3 separate regions of the Homo sapiens genome follow, and all the other regions are linked to region 2. The links are contacts of gene promoters, found by promoter capture Hi-C in blood cells and fetal thymus (Javierre and others, 2016). All regions are on one chromosome and are shown on one strand. The core of a region is centred on a gene start or on the middle of the fragment in contact, and the rest is flanking DNA. Distances in the headings are between cores, read along the strand shown. Region 1 has its middle 28 kb from the start of ROBO3. Region 2 holds the start of TMEM218 (transmembrane protein 218). Region 3 overlaps PKNOX2 (PBX/knotted 1 homeobox 2).

What was found. Contacts are between HindIII fragments. The CHiCAGO score rates a contact against its expected background, and 5 or more counts as called.
Region 1: a contact is called between a fragment that was not itself captured here and the fragment with the promoter of TMEM218 in region 2, in 2 of 17 cell types (total CD8 T cells and fetal thymus). The highest score is 5.5, in total CD8 T cells.
Region 3: a contact is called between a fragment that was not itself captured here and the fragment with the promoter of TMEM218 in region 2, in 1 of 17 cell types (endothelial precursors). The highest score is 7.2, in endothelial precursors.

The regions. Positions count from the first base shown.
Region 1 is chr11:124,835,078-124,839,726 of GRCh38, reverse strand. No RefSeq gene overlaps it. Among named protein-coding and RNA genes, the nearest start is that of ROBO3, 28 kb to the left of the region's middle. The HindIII fragment of the contact is 1,925 bases long and covers 1,451-3,375 here.
Region 2 is chr11:125,108,646-125,113,134 of GRCh38, reverse strand. TMEM218 (transmembrane protein 218) reads left to right here and starts at 1,509. Exons shown (of 5, transcript NM_001258244.2): 1 at 1,509-1,596. RefSeq lists enhancers at 915-1,094, 457-1,369, 1,725-1,814 and a silencer at 1,185-1,254. The HindIII fragment of the contact is 1,270 bases long and covers 683-1,952 here.
Region 3 is chr11:125,399,039-125,403,933 of GRCh38, reverse strand. The region is part of intron 7 of PKNOX2 (PBX/knotted 1 homeobox 2); the gene reads right to left. Among named protein-coding and RNA genes, the nearest start is that of FEZ1, 95 kb to the left of the region's middle. The HindIII fragment of the contact is 4,522 bases long and covers 1-3,538 here.

The sequences.
Region 1 (4,649 bases), core at 1,164-3,663, 270 kb after region 2:
CCTGTTCGTCGGACTGGCGCTGGCGTGGGAGGTTTGGCGAGAGGCGGTCTAGGCCGTTGCCCAGCCCGGGATCCTGCGTGCAGGCGCGCCCTCCACTCGCCCGCGCTCCCACCCAGGTGTCCGCGTGCGGGGATTAGGCGGCCCGCCGGGCTCCCGCCTCCTCCATCAGCCGCTAATGGGCCGTCCTCGGCCTGGCCCCCGCGCCATTGTGTGCGCGTGGGGGTGACGCCGGGTCTCCGCGGCGCGGTGGAGGGTGACCGCGCGCCGCTGCCACCCCGCTTCACACCTGCTCCCCGCCCCCAGCCCCGGCCGCGCTTCGTGTTCCCTCCCTCCCCGCGGGAGGGGTCTCAGCTGGGGCTGCAGTTGGTAAAGAGGCCGTGGAGAGGCCGGCGGCGGCCCGAGGAGGAGCCATAAATTTGGAGCAGATGCGGCCTGACAGTCACCCAGCCCGGGGAGGTGGGGGAGGGCTCTACGCCCCTCCCAGGCCGCGTCTTCTGGTTTGCAGCTGAGTTAGATGGATTCCAGGCCGAGGTGACCCGGGACTTTGGACACACGGAGCCTGTGCTCCTCACTCCCCCACCTCTGCCGGCCGCCCATTGTGTGCCCACGTGCAGGGAGAAGGAATAGGGGGCAGGGACATGTCTGCATTGGCTTATGATTTTCCCCCTAAAAAATGTCGTTTTCCAGCAGAGACTGTGACAAAGTCGGCCACCCTGGCTCTGAGCTGGCGCTTTTTGACAGCAGCCAGAGAAAAATATGGAAGATAGTAGAAGCAAGCTTCAGCTGTTCATTCTGCACTATTTTTTAAGTGCCTGTTTTGTGCTAGAAAGGTAAGGAGGCACAGGCATACAGGATGGGGAGATGGGAAAAGGTGGCGGAAAAAATACCAAGGACTAATACTTGCCATACTATAAGTATTGTGTGTACTGTAATTCTGCACATTAAATAGTATTTTCCTTTAGAAAGTGGCAGTTCCTCCAGCAGAGGAGGGAGCAGGGTGCAGTGTCTCGGGGGGTTGATGGAGTTCGCTCTCAATCCAGGTATCCCATCCACAAATATATGCGTGTCAGGGGTGCTTTCCGCGGATCTGGAAGGGAGTGAAAAGAGCTGGAGCTGCACCCAGGTGGGGTGGACACAGCCCTATTTATCTTATTTGCTCTGGGTACTGTAGGGATTCTTCTCTAGTGTCGCTTTAATTGAAGACTGAGTCTCCCATCTGAAGATCTTGTGACCAAGGGTGATTGGAGGGTCAGTGTCCACAAAGCTGGTGCTCAGTTGGCAAAAACCTCTGCCACCTCCCTTTGTGGCTGTTCTCTGCTCCCTCTAACACTCTGGGCTGGACTGGGTAACTAGATTGGCTTCTAGGACCCATTGCTTCTCCCCTTAGCTCCCACTCCGACAAGTCTCCCTGGTCTGTGCCCAGAGGATCACCCTAAGACTAGAGCAAGCTTGTGCAACCCACGGCCCATGGGCCGCATGCAGACCAGAACACCTTTGAATGCGGCCCAACACAAATTCATATATGTTCTTAAAACATGATGAGGTTTTTTGCAAAAAAAAAAATTTTTTAGCTAGTGTATTTTATGTGTGGCCCAAGACAATTCTTCTTCCAATGTGGCAGGGAAGCCGAAAGATTGGACACCCCTGGACTAGAGATTCACAGCTTGCATGAAAATCACCTGGAGGCCTTATTAACCCTGCCCTACAGTTTCTGATTCCTTTGATCTGGGGTACGGGCAGAGATATTGCATTTCTGAAAGTTTCCCAGGTGGTGACAGTGGTGATACTGGGGGCCACACTTTGAGAGTACTGGCCTACAAGGAAAGGAAAATAGGGGCAGGTGAAAAAAGGAAGGAGCTGAAGTCTTCAGTGCTGGAGGAGGTTACTGGAAGCTGAAGCTCTCCAGGGTACTTGGGTATCTTCACCCTCTGTGAGGGATCCATAGGCCAAATCCCCAAATAATTGTGGACATATTCCAGAATTCATATTCTAGTATTCGAGTGTGTGTGTGTGTGTGTGTGTGTGTGTGTGTTTCTGAAGACTTAGCACTCCCCCTAATGGCTTCAGATGATTCTGCACTCTCCTCAGCCTTTCAACGGGAAGCAAGAATTACTCTTATTTTCCCAGCCTAACTTGGTTATCCACTCCCATCTCTTTGTCACTGATGGAGCGGGGCATTGTCTTACACATTTGTTTACAAATTGAAGAGCATAGTTTTTTTTTACACAATAGTTTGTGTACTAATGAATGAATTAGTGCTATCTTTCCTCTTTAGGAGAACCTTGTTCTCCTAAAATCTACCTTAAGTCACATTTGAAGTGTTGTAGAACCACCTACCAGTGTTCTAAAACACTTCAAATGTGTTCATAGGGAATGAGTTCCAGATGGTTGCCTAAAAATTCTCCCCAAGGTGTCGGTGCCGTTGTCATCAGTTGGGAACTTTTGGCTGGCGGCAAGCACAACCCGAGTCAGAGGTTAAGGATGGATTTGCAAAGTGGAATTTTTAAGTGTGGTATATGGACAGATCAGATGAGAAAATCAAGTGGCATTTTATTTCTCACCACCAGGTGGCAGACCTAACCTCATTAATGAGAATCATCCCTAGACTTGAAGCCTGGCCTGAATTCTACTTTTTTCATATATGAGCCAGGGCAAAAGAGCTGTTTCTCTACTTAAATGACTCAGAAATTTGGGGTAGGGAGAACAATGCTTGAAAATATCTTTGTAGGCCGCGGTGGCTCACGCCTGTAATCCCAGCACTTTGGGAGGCCGAGGCGGGTGGATCACGAGGTCAGGAAATCGAGACCATCCTGGCTAACACGGTGAAACCCCGTCTCTACTAAAAATACAAAAAATTAGCCGGGTGTCGTGGCGGGCGCCTGTAGTCCCAGCTACTTGGCAGGCTGAGGCAGGAGAATGGCGTGAACCCGGGAGGCGGAGCTTTGCAGTGAGCCGAGATCGCGCCACTGCACTCCAGTCCGGGCAACAGAGCGAGACCCCGTCTCAAAAAAAAAAAAAAAAAAAAAGAAAATATCTTTGTAACTGCCGCCAATGTACTTGAGTAATCCCTTGAGCTTCCTGATCCGTGAGGAAGGGCTCGCTGATACTTTTTTTTCCTTCTGGAAAGAGGGAAAACATATGGATGTAACAAAATGGGTTACTTAAGAAAAATGTAAGCGATCTAACTTCTAACCAGAGGTTTCTGCCAGGGCATAAACACATGGCAGCCCTAAACAGCTTTGCAGGCACATGGCTTCCTTCACTTCCAGCCCGTCTGGCAGGCACCCTCTTAATTCCTACCAACTTAATTCCTACCACCCGAGTTCTTTGTTCTGTCGCCCATATTGAAGTTTCCTCAAACTAAAAATGAAAGCTTTATTATAATTCTGGAATCTACTCAGGGCCTTCTTAACTAAATTCTAACTTGCAGTATACGGACATGTAGTTGATCTCTCCTTTATCCCAAATGATCTTGACCCTCAGATCATAGTCAACGTATAAATTAAATTCAACCTAAATTATATAACTATAGCAAGGGTTACACACACACAGCAAGAATGCAGGACGGGCGCGGTGGCTCATGACTGTAATCTCAGCACTTTGGGAGGTCAAGGTTGGCGGATCACCTTAGATCAAGAGTTCAAGACCAGCCTGGCCAACATGGCAAAACTCCATCACTACTAAAAATATAAAACTTAGCCAGGTGTGGTGGCGTGTGCCTGTAGCCCCAGTTCTCAAGAGGCTGAGACACGAGAATCTGCTTGGGAACCTGGGAACCTTGAACCTGGAAGGCTGAGATTGTAGTGAGCCAAGACTGCACCACTGCACTCCAGCCTGGGCAACAGAGCGAGACTCTGTCTAGAAAAAATAATAATTATATATATATATATATCTTACAGGAGGGGTCAATGAATGTTTTGGGAGAAGGGCAGTGAAGATTTCTGTTCTACACACCTTTCTCATCTCAGGGCTATATTACAGCAGATTCTGACAGTATAGTAGCTTTCTTCACAATGTCAAGATCAGAGCAGATCTATACCTTACATAGAAGACAGAAAATTGACTATACCAACATCAGGTCCTCCAGCATAGGTGGGACATTACCTTTTCAGCCTGCAGGGCTTAGTACTTCTTTCAGCTGATCGGCTTCAGGCCTCTTCCTCATTTTGGAAAGGGCAAATCTCAGGTGCACACTGAAAATCTTAGACTAAGTAGCCTGGTACAGTGGCTCACGCCTGTAATCCCAGCACTTTGGGAGGCCGAGGAGGGTGGATCACGAGGTCAAGAGATCGAGAACATCCTGGCCAACATGGTGAAACCCTGTCTCTACTAAAAATACAAAAATTAGCCAGGCGTGGTGACATGCACCTGTACTCCCAGCTATTCGGGAGGCTGAGGCAGGAGAATCGCTTGAACCCAGGAGGCGGAAGCTGCAGTGAGCCAAGATCATGCCACTGCACTCCAGCCTGACGGCAGAGCCAGACTCCGTCTCACAAAAAAAAAAAAAGAAAATCTTAGACTAAGTAAAACCCTCCAGCCCAGAGTGCTTCTCTGCATTGGGCAATTCACTCTCACTGCCAGAGCTCCCTTATACACTTTAAATGCTTATAAATACACTAACAGACAGAGCCTATGGGAAACAATATAAG
Region 2 (4,489 bases), core at 260-2,759:
TACGAAATGTTCTGCAAATATGAAGTATTATTATATTTTGGAGAAATTAATTGTACAATAGGGTTGGCCCATTGTTATATCTTGCTTTAAAGTGTTTCCTACTTGTTTCATGTGTTGTTGACCTAACATTACAAAACCACGGGCTATTAAGATGGGAGTCACATCTCATTTCTTGTATATCTTCGCAGTTCCTAACAGAACATAGCTGCAGTCAACACTCAGTTCCAGTGAAATGAATTCATCAAAATAAAGGATTTCTTAGCCACAGAGCTTCTCACTGGGCCAAGTAATGTTAAGTTGCTAAACGCACAACAAATCATTGGTTACTTTATGTGATTGTAAATGAAGCCTCGAAAGTTGAATAAATTTGAGACGTGCAGTTGATGAAATTCAAGCATCTTCTTCTTTTTGGTTCATAAAGCTGTGATTCAGGAGAATTCCTTAAATCAGAGATTCAGTGCTCTAAGATTGAATAGGTTGCTTCATGATATTTCTTAAAATTTTGTTTAAGGTCAAAGGTTCAAACGGTGCAGCTCTCCAATTTGGTATTGATTATTGTTTGTTTCCCCTTCTTGATTCAGTGGTGGAGCACGCAGCCTCTGTCCTACTTCCTTTGGTTGTCCTGATTGATGCATCTTTTGGTCTAACAGGCCATAGCCTCAAAGCAAAGTCATGGCAAGCTTTAGTTGGCAGTTAGGTAACAGCAGTCTGCCAATAGCGTGGGCCAGCTCCAGTTCCAGCAGCCTGGCGGCAGAGGGTTTACTTGATGGACCCTGGGCCTCTTCCCCAGTCTGTCCCGTGGGTAGAATGATCTTTGCCTTTGTCTGTTTCGCAAGGCTAATGGAAGAATTAAATACCAAATAAAACAAGTCGAGATAAAGATAAATGAAGCGTGCCGTTATTACAACTGGTGCTTCGTCCTCAGTTCCCTCCAGGAGGGTTGTTGGGGACACTTAATGACCGGGCCTGAGCTGACTTGTCCACCACATCTTGCGCCCCACTCGAGCTAGTGGGTTGGGGATTGAGATGTTCATCAGGCCCCGGAAAAGGCATTGATGTCTAGATGACTGTGCAGTTCTCTGGAGTTCGAGATCTGAGCTGCCTGGCCCTGCTGCTTCGCTGCCTGGATGGGCAATCTCTATGGTGACAGCGAGTGAGGCCGGAAGAAGTCTCTCTCTTCCGCCCAACAACCCGCCCTCAGGCTAGACTGACCAATGGCCCAATGAGTTACGGAGAGATGGTGTGATTGACAGTGGAGTGGCGGGGGGGCGGGGAGTGCAGCTCGGACCGCTGCTACCCAACCGAACTGAGGTCGGTCCAAAGGCTGACAGGCACCGACCAATCGGAGGGCGTAACGAAGGGTGACGAGCCAACCCACCGCGCTCGGCGTTGCCGGGAGCCGCGCTAGGCGTAAGCTAATGAGGAAGAAGTTGGCCGTTGAAAGAGCAACGCTGATTAGTGAATCTTAAATCACCTAAATGAAAGCCCACTTGTGATTCGCCCTAAGTAAACCAGAGCCCCGTGGGCTGGAACGCGCCGGAATCTGAGGTGTGAGTAGAGCCTGGGGGAGAGTGGATCCAGGTGAAGGGGGCAGAGGTGAGGAAAGCGGGGCGGCTGCGGGGAAGGGAGAAAAGTGGAGGGTCGGGCTGAGGTGGTTGGAAGAAGGCGTGGGCGGACGGCGGTGCACGGACCTCGCAGACCACCCTTACCGCTGATCTGGACCCAAGGCCCGGCTAATAAATACTTAATTGGAGGCAGAGAAGGAAGGACTGTTTTGTTTCATGCTCTTAAGAAAAGGAAGTGTCAGTGCCTGATTCAGATCTCTTATGACCGAGACCTTAATCCCTCTCTAGCTCCTGGGAGGTGGCCAGGTGCACATTCTGAAGACGAGACATGGGGGGCATTGTTTTCCTGTCGCCAGTTTGAATCTGCAACAGGGTTGGGGAGAAGCTTAGAGTTCAAGTGGGGTGTTCCCAGGCTGCAGTGCTGTGAGATCCAGAGAGCGGATAGACCGAGGCTCTGCAGCGCTTCCAACCCACAACACCGTCCAGGAGAGGGATGCAAGGAAGAGACCTAGGTTTACTGATCCTCCTTTTTCTATCAACGTGTTAAGAGCAGATGCTACATCGGTGGCATTTTGGGAGCTTGGCAACTGATTTTTTCCCCAGGCTTGCATTTTATCTAATTACAAAGGTAGAGGCGTTATTCTAATATTTTAAAATTCAAAAGATAGTGAAGTGTTTAAAGTAGAAACATAAAAGTGTGAAAGTAACCCCCCCCCCCCGTTATTTTTGAAGGTTTGGAAAACAGCTATAAAGCAAAGTGAAAAGGACTCTTCCAGAGGAGCACTTCACTCCTTGTAACCCACTGTTTTCTGTTGCTTTCAAGGGCTTGAGTCAGTGTGAAAATCGGGGGATGGGTGAGATATCTCCCTCCAGCAGCAGCACTTAGGCCACATTACCCTCTGAGGAATCCACATTTGTCTTAGATAGTAAGTCATCTTATAAGTCATCTTATAATGGCAGTTAGTATTCTCGCTCATGATGATCAACCTGGTGATGAGTACCGTATTTTTAATCCATTAGGTTACCTGTGCAGGGATCAGTCCATTTATTCCTATTTTCTCTGACAGCTGGATGAAAGGGTATGTAGAAACAACCATTAAATGAACACACACATCTAAAAGGTTTTGAACAAACTCTCTCAGAGAAAAACCTCACAGCATTGAGCACAGAAGGAAAACATTAGCCCTGTAGTTGCTTTTGTTGTCAGCTGCTGAACTGTTCAAATTTAAATTATTTTTTTTCACTCCAGTCTACCTGCTTTAAATGCCACAGATATTAAGTAAATGGACTTACCCTTGAAATCGGGTTGGCCAAGCCATCACTTCTCAAAGAAGGTTTAATGATGGCATGAACCCGTTTTTATATTTTATTGTATTGTACTCAATAACAATAATTTAGCTATTCTAATATGGGAAATTATCACAGATATTATTCTCACATTTAAATAAGATAAAAATGACTAGATGTTCTCTCTTCCTCTATAGCAGCACTCTATACTATACCCAGCCCTTCTTTTCTATGCTTAGTAAGAAAATGTATAGTTTGCTTATAAAATTATGAGCTCCATTCTTAAAAGAGCTTGGGAATATTTATCTTATTACTTTAAAGCCATACCATATATAAATCCAATGTCTCACGAACTCTTAAGCTACTAAGGGGGATTGAAGGGCAACATTTCTAATGGCGCCAGCCAGCTTCAACTACCATTTGCCCTCTATTCTAACTGTTAGAGTTGGTCCAAGTCTTCTGGGTTATTTGTGTAATATCCAGAATAGCACAAATTAAATTTAAATAGTTGTTTTCTTAAGAGCAGTACCATCAGCTCAGTCAACTAAGCTAGAAACTTGTGTCATTTCTAACACCTTCTCCCTTGACACAGCTAAGACTGGAGGTCAGACCCTCATCATCTCTTATCTGGAGAATTGCAATAGTTTCCTAACTGGTCACCCAATTCATATGCATCCTGCTGCCCATTACCTTTTTAAAAATTAAAAATTATCACGAAAAATTTAAAAACAGAAAATAGTACATTGGGTAGTATAATATCTATGTTCCACCAATCAGATTAATAAATATTAACATTTTGGCACACCAGCTCAAGTTTTTTATTTTAAAGAAATAAAACATCACAGATTTAGTTCAGATCCCTTTTATTTCCACTCCTAACCCCATTCCCTTTCCTTCCTCCCTCTGCAGAGGCAAATAGTCTTTTGAAATTGTCATGTATTGTTTATGCCCATGTTTTTATACTTTTGCTGTATATACGTTCGTCAGAAACAATATATATTACTGTTTAGATTGTATTTAATTTTAAAAATACAAGTAGTATCATACTGTGGGTTCCATTTTGCAACTTGTTTTTGTCACTCAACATTGTTTTTGAGATATATTCACATCAATACATATAGATCAATTTCATTCATTTTAAGTATTCATTATGAATATATAATATTGTATCTGTTCCCTGATTGATGGACATTTAGGTTTTTTCCTGATGTTTTGCTATTGTAAACAAAGCTGCAATAAACACCTTGTACATGTCTCTTTATGCAAGACTGTGTCTAGAACAGTGGTTCCCCAAGAAGATGTTGCTGCCCGTTTTAGGGTGTTTTGGAATTTGTGAAGATGTATTTTGTTATTCTTTGATTGGAGGCACTACTGGGGTTTACAGATCAGGACTGCGGATACTGGATGTTCTGTAATGTATGGGACAGTCCTCACAACGAAGAATTGTCCTGCATCCTGTGCAAATTTTGAGTATCCCACAGGATACTCATTTATAATTATCTGAGTGTAGAGCCTAACTCCGGTTTTTGTATAAACATAATGTATTTTTTGGCACAGTTTAATATAGTAAAATTTCCAGGAATGCAACTCTAATGTAAATCAGAGGAAAATTATACTTATTTGTGGTTTGGAACTTT
Region 3 (4,895 bases), core at 28-2,527, 290 kb before region 2:
ATTAGCCCCCTTCCTATTCTGCTGGGGAGGCGCAGAGCTGCAGAGTCGCATCTGGCAGCTGGGCCTAGCATCTCAGAATGTCCTCAACTTTGTACCTCTCATTTCCCTACTTCCAGTCTACTAGCAAATCCAAATTCTTGCTTCGTAGCAATTGGCTTCTTCCTCTGTAGTCCCTACCCCACTGACCAATAGCTAGGTAGGGTCATCACTCTCCACCCAGGTCCCAGGACCCCTGATTCTTCTCCCCATGTGTCACAAAAACATATCCCCATGTAGCAAGAAGAACATGGGCTCTGGAGTAGCCCATCCCGGACTCCAGCACTTGCTAGGTGTGTGACTTTGAGCCAGGGTCTTCACTTCTCTCAGCTTCTCTTTTCTTGGATGTAAAATGGAGAAAATCATGTGTACCTTGCAGCCTGTCATGAAGAGTAAATTAGATAATCTGTGGAAAGCACCTAGTACACACCATGTTTGAGACAGAGGGGAGCTCAATAAATGTTCACCGTCTCCCCTCCTTCTGCCAGCTCTTCTTGGACCAATACAAGATGTGGCTGCTCAATTGATTTGTCTCCAGCGTGTCTCCAGCCCTGACCCTGTTGCCTACATTCTCCACTACCTTTAAAGTCTTTAGCAGTCGGCCACCACTATTAGCCCCAAAACAGAACTCCCACACATTTGGCTTCAAGGTACTCCATCATTACACTTGGAGACCTGGGACTGTGTCGCATCCATTTTTTATATCCCCAGAACTCAGTAGGCTCCAGAGGTGCCTGAATGGATGCAGGATGCGTGAATGAATGAGCCCCCTTCACCCCATCTCCTCTCTAGGGATTCTGATTGGCTCTCTCTGTTTCTCGCCTTCTTTCAGACTTCTTGCTACATTGGAAACACTCACCTTTATAAAGGTTGCCAAATAGGCTACCAACTCTCACCAAGCCTGCCTGAAATGCCACCTCCCAGAGGAAGCCCTCCCAAGGCCAATGAATCTGTAACTTCTCCAATCACAATGGGCAAAATCCTCCTGTTGTCCTCTCCACTCTGTACTGAGGTTTGTTTATCCTATTGTGGAGCAGGAACAAACTGGCCATGAAGGTGTGAGGGCTGGGTCTGGGACTTGGTCCCCCTCTGAGGAAGGATGAAGGATGCTGAGTTGAGACTGGGGCAACCTCAAGCCACACATGTGGATCACCCAATCCAGAATCCCTGCCTGCAGCTCCTCTCCCCATCTCTTTGGCTGCTCCTTTCCTCTGTACTCTTGACCCTGAGCATTTCACGGCTGACATGATTTATCTAGATCCTCATTGTGACTCATGGCTCTCTCTCCCTGAGACTGGGAGCTCCTCTTGGACAATGGCTTGTGTCTGTTCTCACAGGACCTAGCACAGAACATACAGTGAGTGCCCCCCAAACGCTTGGCAATTGAATGAGAACCATGATTCAATCCAATTTGCCTGGAATAGAGCTGAGGCTTAAATCTCCACAGAGAAAAAAGGATGAATTTCAGGTCAAACTAATACTTGAGTGAGGTGTCTCTCTAGTGGAATGGTTCCATTTGCGCCCTCTAGGAAGGACAGGAGAACCCAGAGTAGGGTCTAGAACCAGTCTCCTTACAGAGGATCCTGCCCCCACAAGAAGCCTGGGCTCTGAGGAGTAGGAAGCCTGGGTGTCATTGGGTGCCTGCAGCACAGGATGGGTTCCTAGGGAGGGGGAAAATCTAGCTGTGGCCCAGGTCTTTGAAAGTCTGCTTTAGTCCCCTGCTTGGTAGAACAGTCTCCCTTACTTCCCATCTCCACTTTGCCCAGCAGAGAAGACTCACACAGAGAAATCGAAGGCCGAGCAGGAAAACGCTCAACCCATCGATCTGGATGGAGGACACGGCATAGCATCTGGGAGTGGGGATACCAAGTTGAAAACAAAAATGTCTCCCGCTTTGCAACACAAGGCTGGATGATTAGCACACAGGGAAAACCATGAGCCAGCAGTTTGCAACAAAGCTGGCAGGCGGCTGGAATGTTGATCCAGAGGATCATGTTCCAGAGGGGAGACACCCCTCCCCAGGCCAGGCTGGTGCTCAGGCTATTTCAGGCCGGGGGGATTAAGGGTGAACCATGACGAATGCATGTGCCCGCGTGTGCACACACATACACACACACACACACACACACACTCACAAGCTCCTTTTCTCTCTCTCATACAGGCTCCTGTGTCTTGAACCCAAGACCTGCCTCCTGCACTGAAAGTCTCGGTCCCCGATTCTTAGCAGCCCTGGGCCTCTCCTTCCTGGGAGAGCCCATGCAAGCCCGGCCCCTACCTTAGTGCAATAATGACAGGGGCCTGTCCTGGGAAGGCTTAAGAGACGTGTGAGTGTGCAAGTGGGCCGAGGGATGGCCAGAGAAGGCAGGAGAGCAGGTTAGGAAGCTCCTGCCATAGCCTATGTGTAATTACCGTATTTACCCCTGAAGCCTGAGCAAAGCAGGCAGTGGCAGTCAGAGAAAATGCAGGGGCAAGTTTGAGTAATACAACAGGAGCAGCACATAGCACATCCTCCTGACTTTCCCGCCTCCTCGTACCCTGGCTGCGCACTGAGCCACATGCATTGTCCTTTCACTTGCTGTCACTCTTGCTGCCGTTCCTCTCTCCGTCTGTCCTTCTGCCCCGTCGTTCTCAGTATCGTCTCCCTTTTCCTGGGTTTGTGTGCCTCCCTGTCTCTCTCTCTTGCTCTTTTCCTCCAATTCTTCAGCCTGTCTCTGCTTCCCTCCTGAATGTTGACCCTGCATATTTGGCTTTCTTTCCCTTTATTTTTCTTCCTATTTCTCCTTTCCTCCTTTGGCTTCCCCTTGCCCCTGCCCCCCACCCAACTTTCTTTCTCTCATTCCATTATTTCTTTCAATAAATACTTCCCGGCCATCTTTCTTGCACAAGACCTTGTGGTAGCCACTGCTGGGGTCACAGGGAGAGTACACTAGGACTCTGAAGGGATGAGTCTATTTCAAGAGACTATCAGCAGGCAGAGGCTGGAAATGGCTGTTTTTGGCCTATAATAAGGTGATTTGGTGATTTCAAACATGTAAAATACTGTCTCTGCTCAAAAAGTGTTATCTAGGATAGGAAAATGAGATGAACACAGGGATCTATAATATAAAGTCACAGTGACTTTTGCCATATCGATGGCTCAGCAAGCTCCACCAGTTAGTGGAGTGCAGGAAGCGTCCATTCTGGATGGGGCATCAGGGAGTCCTCCTGGGTGAGCAGCCTTGTTCCTACCCTTGGGGAAGAAGCTGGGTTTGGTTGTGCAGAGATGATGGGGTTGTGGGGGAGGTGTCACCCGAACAGACAGGCATGGAGTGATGGTTACAGCACCTTGAACAGTCAGATTGGCCCACCCAGGAAGGCTGAAGCCAGACCTAGGAGGGCCTTGAATGTCAGGTGGGCAGATGTGAAAGCCCTCCCTTCCACCCCCAGGGGCATGGCAAGCAGGGTTTCTGAGCAGGCGAATGACATGAACAAAGTTAGAAAGATGAATCCAGCAGCAGAAGCTTAAGAGATGCATGGGTGTGCAGGTGGGCTGAGGGATGGCCAGGAGAGCAGGTTAGGAAGCTCCTGTCATAGCCTATGTGTAATCACCGTATTTACCCCCGAAGCCAGAACAAAGCAGGTGGTGGCAGTCAGAGAAAATGCAGGGACAAGTTTGAGTAATACCAAGTAGGAATACCTCACTAGTGTCTTTTCTCTTTCTCAGTGCCTCGCTTGCATCACCCCCTCCCCCACACCCACCACGCAATTGTCTGATTCCTCTTTCCCAGCTGATCAATGGCCTTTCTGCCGTGGGTACCCCAGGGCCAGCCTCACTTCCAGGCAGAGATCTGATGCTTCCAGTGATAGGAATCAAAATTCTTCTGTCTTTCCTCAAAGCTCAGAAGGCTGAGTGCCGGGATTCTCCAGGGGGACTGATTTTTGCAGGTGGCAGCATCTCTGAGAACTTAACCATCCAGAGTCCGCGTTATCCTTTTCTGCAAACCCCACTTCTCCAGTGACCGACTGGTTTCTGCAGACCAACTTGTCAGTCTCAGACCTCCAACCCTGAGGGGGCTGAGGTGGCTGCTAAGCCCTCTGCCCCTCCTTCCTTCCCCCACTACCCTGGTGCACCCCCAGCTCCAGAGCTCGAGGTGGAGTTGGAGGGCCCAGGAGGGGAAATCCAGTGCCTCTCCAAGGACCTGATTATTTCCAAAGACTTGTGCTAATTTTCTGATATGATCCTCACATCTCTGTGAGGCACTAAATCCTCATTACTTTTCCTGACCGATGCATTCTAATTAGATCAACACTTAAAAAAAATTCACAATAGCCACAGGATGGCTTTCCATCTCATTAACTCCTCACTTATTATTTTCATGAAAATTACTGATAAAAATGTGCATCTCCATTTGGCGAGGCCTCACAGCCTCCTCAGCTCCTATCTTGCATCTCTCCCATCACCGGGACTGCGCAGCGTCACCATGGTAACCCACAATAATAGAAACTAATAAATTACAAACGAGATGCTCGTTGAGCAATTATTGTCCTCTTTTATGCAAGTTTCTTGCTAATTTTGATCATAAGGGAAAGTACAATAAGACTCTGAAGGAATGAGTCTATTTCAAGAGAATATTAGCAGGCAGAAGCCCGGGCGGGTGTTTTTAGATCTGTAATAAAGTGACTTGGTGATTTCAAGCGAGAGGAAGAGGAAGTAAACTTCTTGCCCTATGTCCTGGGCAGTACTCACTACGGAGTCTCACAAAGAGCCCACTGGGGTGGGTTGGATGTGATACCGAGTGTATCTTTTGTGCTTGTTGTCAAAATGTGCAAAGCAAGGCTGGCCTTCTAGAAGTCAGCCTGTCCCCTCCCCTGACTCCACC